Linked DNA regions of Homo sapiens: region 1 is linked to region 2. Evidence: promoter capture Hi-C in human tissues and cell types (Jung and others, 2019). All regions are on one chromosome and are shown on one strand. Each heading gives the region's core, a stretch centred on a gene start or on the middle of the fragment in contact. The rest is flanking DNA. Distances are from core to core; before and after follow the strand shown. Region 1 overlaps GRK3 (G protein-coupled receptor kinase 3). Region 2 holds the start of MYO18B (myosin XVIIIB).

Region 1 (3,695 bases), core at 733-3,232, 100 kb after region 2:
AAGCTGATACCAGACTGAAGGTAGAGATACTTGAAGATTATAAAATTCCAAAAAGTCAAAACAATTAAACGGAGAGTTCGCAGAAACAGAAGCTGCAGAAAGGAACTGAAGAAAGACTCACAAAGTCTACCATGTAGAGATGAAGTGGACCAGAATTCCCCAGGTGGGACTGAAAAAGGAAGTGGCTGTGATGAGATTTTAATTAACATTAGCATAAGGATCTTGTAACTTGAACTGGTCTGTAACTGATCCATAAATTCCCCTCATAGTTCCCGGAACGTGGCCTTTGAAAATGGTAAGTGTTCGTTCACTCAAACTAGAGTAGAATGACTAAGAGTACTAGTTAAATAGGCATAGCCAGACTTTACCAGGGTCAGGCGCACACCTGCAGCAGGAGCACAGCCACGCTCCTCCCATGGAGAAACTGCAACGACCCCAACATAGGCAGGAAGTAGGAAATTCAAGAAGCAGGCAAATGGGAAGGATACACATCTCTATCTGTTCGTATGTTAGTATTCTGATTTTAAGAGTAATCGTTGTCTCTTCATTTTTATTCATTTCAAAGGACTTTCTAATTTCCCTTGTCATTTCTTCTTTGATCCGTGAGTCCTTCAGAAGGGTGTAGTTTAATTTCAAAATATTTGGGGATTTTTCAGACACTGATTTTCTGTTTAGCTCTGTTGTGGTCAGAGAACATGCTTGGTATGATTTCAATGCTTTTAAATGCATTGAAACTTTTGGTCTATCTAACGGAATGCTGTATGGCACTTGAAGAAAGGGTGCATTCTGTTCTTATAGGGTGGAGTGTTTCATTTAAAAGAATACAAAGGCAATTAAACCAAGTGGGCTTGATAGAGTTCTTCAAGATGGTCCTCTGCAGCAACACAGATGGAACTGAAGGCCATTATCCTAAGTGAAGTCAGTCAGAAACAGAGACTCAAATACTGCACATTCTCATTTACAAGTGGGAGCTAAACAATGGGTACACATGGACATAGGGAGTAAAATAATAGACACTGGAAACTCCAAAAGGCAGGAGGATGGGAGAGGAGTAAGCCATGAAAAATCACAGATTGAGTACAATGTACACTAAAAGCCCAGAGTTCACCACTATGCAATGTATCTAGGTAACAAAATTGCACTTGTACCCCCTAAATCCATAGAAATAAAAGATCATCCTCTGAATCTTTACAGAATGTCTGTCTGTTTATTTATTTATTTATTTTTGAGATGGAGTCTTGCTCTGTCGCCCAGGCTGGAGTGCAATGGCGCGATCTTGGCTCACTGCAACCTCTGCCTCCCAGGTTCAAGCAATTCTCCTGCCTCAGCCTCCCGAGTAGCTAGGATTACAGGCACCCGCGATCATGGCCGGCTAATTTTTGCATTTTTAGTAGATACGGGGTTTCACCATGTTGGCCAGACTGGTCTCGATCTCCTGACCTCAGGTGATCCACCCGCCTTGCCCTCCCAAAGTGCTGGGATTACAGGCGTGAGCCACCGCGCGGCCATCTGTCTATTTATTCTATCCATCATCAACAGTGAAGTGTTGAACTCTCCATTTGTAATTGTAGATTTGTTCATCTTTTTTCAATGTTGTCAGTTTTTGCCACATGTATTTCTTTTTCTATTTCTGGAAGACAAAACTAACATGAGAATTTGAACTTAAGTATTTTGATCAAATTAGAGATGTTTTCAAAATGTCTAAATGACAAAATGAAATAATACCACACATGGACCACTGTCTTTTGACTACACTTGGAATCAAACTGAAACTCTTCACCATAGCCTACCCACGTCCTCTGGAGTCACCATTTCCTTCTCTGGCCTCATCTCACAGTGCTCCCCCCAAGCTCACTTCACTTAGGCCAAGCTTCTGTACTGTAGTTTCTCTGACACCAAGCTCATTCCCTTCTCAGGGTTTCTTACCGGCTATTCCCACTGCCTCACACACTTTTCCTGGATCTTCTAAATGAACAGCTCACTAGCTCACTTCACATATCCCTTTCCTTGAGGAGGCCTTTCATGATTCTCATTCATTCTCACTGTCCTGCTGTCTCTATCTCGCATCCATTCACACACACACACCACAAAACACTTTGTAGCACTTACGATGAGCAAAAATTGTCGCATGTTTATATTTGCTTCTTTACTGTCTACCTCTCCCACTACAATGTAAGCTGCAATGCATAGGGTACAGGTGTTTTATTCTCTACTACATTTGCACAAGAGCATTGACTGTAACAAAGACAGAGCTCAGGAGAGAGAACAAAGGAAGAAAGGTAGAAGAAAGAGCAAAGGTACAAGGAGAGGGAGGGAAGTCGGGGGAAAGGAGGAAGGAAGAGGACAGAAAGAGGAGGGATGAGGGAAAGAGGGAGTTGAATGAATGAACACCCAACTTAGAATGTGTTTACCTATTTATTTAAGGAAATCTCCATTGTCGGTCAGTAGAATAAGCCAAGGACTTAGTTCAACACACAATAGAAAACACAAAATATTATTTTCCTCCTATGTGCACATAAACTGAAGCTTTACTTTCTACCAGCTGTTTAAATGGAGCTGCTAAAATTGAGCAGCAGGAAGAAAGATATTTGCCTTTTGGCTAAATCCTAGATCACTGTGTCCTAGGCTGAACGCAACTTACCTTCATCAGCCTTAAATTATATAAAAAGCAAATGAAGCATGGCCTAGATTAGGGCAAAATATGAGAGGCAAAAATAAGGAAATATTTTGCCTAACAAGTTCACTTCATCGCTGCAATTTCTCCAGATCTTAAAGAGTAAAAAATGGTGACCTAACACCTGCTTAGTAGATATTTGTGAAATGTGTTTACTTTGTTGCTATATTTGAACCACTGCAAAATGCTGAATATTGATTAACTTTTTAGTGTATGTAACACCCGCCATCACGATAATTTTTCAAAAATTAGTAGAAAGAATTGTATTGCTTTTTATAAAATGTAAGTTAAGAACTTTTGAAAGTATTAAATATAAGTGGTTTCTATGAGAAAATTTGAAATTAAATCTCCTAAAAATTAGAAAGGTGAAAAGAGAAATATGAAAATTTTCTTGCAAGAAAAAATACTTGTCCTCAGTTTTGCCAAGGAGATTAAGACAGTAAGGAGAATAGACTGCATAACTGCTAAAACTTCCTCCCAATATTGACTAATTCTACAAAACATTTACTGAGTATCTACTAAGAGCCACTGTGTTATTCACTGAGGATGTGATTGTGAAAACAGTGTTTTTCCAATAAAGCGCTTACGGATTAGTGTAAGAGACAGACAACAAAGAAATACATATAATTTATGACAAGGAATATAAAGTAATTAAGTATGATGCTGAGATAATGATAAAAAGAGGAAGATGTATTTCAGACAGAATGGTCAGTAAGGCCTTTCTGAGCTGTGAGACAAACAAAATACAATGCATGTCAGATAAGAAAATGCTGCAATATGTAATCTCACTCCTCTTCAACATTGTATTGGAGGTCCTAGCCAATGCAATAAAGTAAGAAAATGAAATAACAGTTATTCAAATTGAAAAGGAAGAACTAAAACTGATTCTATTCAATCTGGTTACCTACCTGGCAAATCCTATCTATAAGTAACTACTAGAATATGTAAGTAAATTTAGCAAGGCCACAGGACATAAGGTCATTAGATAAAAACCAATGAAATTTCTATAAACTCATAGCAC
Region 2 (3,743 bases), core at 771-3,270:
AACACCTGCCCAATAAAATCTTTGCGATAGTTAGACCCTAATAAAGTGCTGTGCACGTTTTCCATGTTTGTGAAACATGGAAATTCCATGAGTTTTGACAGGGCAGGTGCTGAGCAACAGCCTTCTGTGGTTTTGTTAGCTCAAGTGAAAGGAAAAGCTCTTCTCCAATTTGGGTGGGCACCAGAACCACCTGTGAGGTTTAAAATCTGTGGATTTCTGGGCCCCTTCCCCCAAGACTGTTCAAAAGGTCTAGGATGAACCCAGGAATCTGCATTTTAAAACAGCCCCCCGCCTCCTGCCCCACATGAGTCTGATGGGTAGGTCGTCAACGACCGTCACTTCAAGAAAAACCTTCCTGGATGCTGAATCCTAGGAAAGATCCCAGAGGTGGTCTAGCCCAACCCCCTCAGGTTTTAGAAGGAGAAACTAAGTTCCGACTGGGGAGAGTACTCATCCAAGGTTACAGAGCCCACACCAGGATATTCAAGGTGACCAGGCCTGGAGGCAGGTGACATCAAATATTTGTTGATTGGTAACATGCAGCCCTTCAAAAGCCAGGAGACCAGGAGACTCCCTCTCCTCCTCCTCTTCCTCCTTCTCCTCCCTCCTCCACCCACTTGGCCTTTTCTTTTGGCCTTTTCCTTTGCTATTATTCTTCTCCTCCTTCTTCTCTTTCTCCTCCTGCTTTTTTCCTCCTCCTCCTTCTCTTCTTCTCCTTCTCCTCCTCCTCTTCCTTCTTTTCTCTCTCTCCTCTCCACTATTATTTTCTAGAACTCATCCATAGCCTAAGAGTATATAGACCCCTCTCTTTTCTGCTCCCAAGGTACACACTGGACATGGTACCCAGGCATAGGAGAATACAACTTAGGTCAGCAATGGATACAGCACCCAAGGCCACCATTATCCTTGTTGGAGTCTAGAAGCCCTAGTGGGACACTCAGCCTCCATGAGCTGGTGCACTGAATGAGGCAGCATCTTTTTGGACAGCCACAAAGTGAAAGTAACAGCCTCGTCGTATTCCAGGCCCTACAGGATAGAAGCCCAGATCCCCACACTTGCGGGTTGAGGCCAGACTGGACAGCTTGGAGCCGACTGGGAGCCGACTGGGCTCCCCATTCCGGGCCTCCCCACTCCTGGCCTCCTCCATGGAAAAGCTGCAGGAAGGCAGCAGCCCAGAGGCCTGTAGCTGGTGAGGTCTTCTCCTCTCCTGGGAGAGAGCTCCATGTCAAAGCATAGCCCCCTTCTGCCCCACTATGGGGCCACTGGGACCTGTGAATCTTCTTCATTCAGAGAAATGCCTGCTATCCGGGGTGCCAGATAAGACACCTTCCCTCAGACAGAGCTCAAGGAAGGTGGCATGAAATTGAAACCTTCAGCCATGAACTTCCATTGCCCTTCCCCCAACACTCATACATGCTTAATTTGCAGTTTAAAAAAGAACATTAAAATTAACATTTCGACTCAACAGCGTTGTTAACACGAAAGGGGAAGCCTGGCTCTTCCCCGACCATAACTGAACACCAGTGAAGCAGAAATTACTGGTAGTTGAGGAAAAATATAAACCCTGACGTCTGCGGGCAAAGATTCACAGTGGAGATTAACTCATGATTCTAAACACATTTTTAAAAATTATTAGCGAACAGCTGGGGCCTGAGGAGAGTGATTCTTACGAATGTCCATTTGCCCCAGCATTTTGTTCTCAAATCCTTCCACCGAAACACTCTTGTTTTCAAAGTGAGCAGCACGGGCAACAGGCAAAGGAATCAGGCCTCGGAAGCTCTCAACACCAGAAAGGCCTAAAATAGACCAAAAGACCGGAGGCCTGCCACCGCAGCCCCCAGCAGCGCATTCCGGAAAATTAAAACTCGCCGATCCGCTCGCAAGGTGCCCGTCTAAAACCCAGCCCAATAGTACCTTCTGCAAAGAGGACACAGATCACAGGAACCACGACTGTCTAAGACGTCTCCCCGGGTGGCCGCGAAGGGACCCCACCGAGCCGGGAAAGCAGGAGCGAAGGAGCACCCTCTCCACACACACCGACACACATCCCTTCCCCTTACTGCCCCTCCCCGACCCGTCCTCCCCCCACCCTCCTTCTGGGCCAATGTGATAGCAGCAGCTGAGTCGACCAGTCATTTCTAAAATTAGCTTGTGAGCTCCAGGTCTGGCCAGGAGACGGCAGCCCGGGGTGGCCGTTGACCAGGCAGCAGAGACCATGGACATATTTGGTGGCCCCTGAGCAGGGAAGGGGACAGCTCTGGACACAAGCACATGCTCTCTCGTCATCCCTGTCCCAGGGCAGGGCCACACACCCACACTCCCGCCTCTGCCCACACAGATAACCAGAGGTTGCAGGAACTGTTTGAGGAGGAGAGCTGGCCGGTTCTACATTCCAGGCAGACTCTGGAAGAAAATAACTTGAATGAATGCTGGTGCGTCGTGGTAAACAACCAGTGCATGTAAACATACCTTATGCTTAGGTAGTGGTTATCGCATGCCACACACCGAGGGCTTTCATGAACTCACTTAATGTTCCCTATGAGGTAGGGTTTTTCCCCAGCCCCACTTTACAAGTGGGGAAATTGAGACACAAAAAGTTAACCAACTTGCCCAAGGCCATGGAGAGCCAGAATTCAAACCCAGGCTGTGCGGGCCGTAGAGGAAACAGACACAACAGCAAACTAGGGGCTATAAAAAAGTGCTTTGGGCCTGGCACGGTGGCTCACGTCTGTAATCCCGGCACTTTGGGAAGCCGAGGTGGGCATATCACGAGGTCAGGAGATTGAGACCATCCTGGCTAACACAGTGAAACCCCGTCTCTACTAAAAATACAAAAACAAAATTAGCCGGGCGTGGTGGTGGGCGCCTGTAGTCCCAGCTACAGGCGGAGCTTGCAGTAAGCCGAGATCGCGCCACTGCACTCCAGCCTGGGTGACAGAGAGAGACTCCATCTCAAAAAAAAAAAAAAAAATCAGCTGGGTGGGGTAGTGGTTGTCTGTGATCCCAGCTACTTGGGAGGCTGAGGCAGGAGAATTGCTTGAACCCAGGAGGCGGAGGTTGCAATGAGCTAAGGTCACGCCACTGCACTCTAGCCTAGGCGATAAGAGACTCTATCTCAAAAAAACAACAACAAAAAAAGTGCTTTGTCCACTGCCTAAAAGGAGCAAAGTACAGACTTCAATAAATTGGATAAACCATGCAGGTCCATGCAGCTAGCAAAGGGTAGAGTCATGACTCAAATCCAAGTCTTTCTGGTTCCAAAGACCGCAATCAGCCCAGCATGATACTGCTCCTGTGAGAATTGTTTCAATAATTGCTATGTGGTGCTGCTCCTCTTTCCCCAGAGCTCATCGAGCAATATTTTCCCAAAGTACTCACTTCTGCCGAGGTCTTGAAAATTAGCATTCAATCAGAAGTTCATTGAAACACTAAGGGAAGGCTGCTTAGAAAATGGCAGTCTAGGCCGGGTATGGTGGCTCACACCTGTAATCCCAGCACTTTGGGAGGCTAAGGCGGGTGGATCATTTGAGGTCAGGAGTTTGAGACCAGCCTAGCCAACATGGTGAAACCCCACCTCTACTAAAAATACGAAAATTAGCTGGGCGTGGTGGCGGGCACCTGTAATCCCAGCAACTCGGGAGGCTGAGGCAGGAGAATAGCTGGAACCCAGGAGTCAGAGGTTGCAGTGAGCAGAGATGGCGCCATTGCACTCCAGCCTGGGCGACAAGAGCAAAACTACATTT

Evidence for each region. Contacts are between HindIII fragments. The study calls those that stand out against the background at their distance.
Region 1: a fragment that was not itself captured here is called in contact with the fragment with the promoter of MYO18B in region 2 in 4 of the 25 tissues and cell types used here (aorta, mesendoderm cells, spleen and 1 more).

Annotation. Positions count from the first base shown.
Region 1 is chr22:25,639,965-25,643,659 of GRCh38, reverse strand. All of the region lies in intron 2 of GRK3 (G protein-coupled receptor kinase 3), which reads right to left. Among named protein-coding and RNA genes, the nearest start is that of GRK3-AS1, 76 kb to the right of the region's middle. The HindIII fragment of the contact is 4,965 bases long and covers 1-3,695 here.
Region 2 is chr22:25,740,465-25,744,207 of GRCh38, reverse strand. MYO18B (myosin XVIIIB) reads right to left here and starts at 2,020. Exons shown (of 44, transcript NM_032608.7): 1 at 1,915-2,020. The HindIII fragment of the contact is 19,978 bases long and covers 1-3,743 here.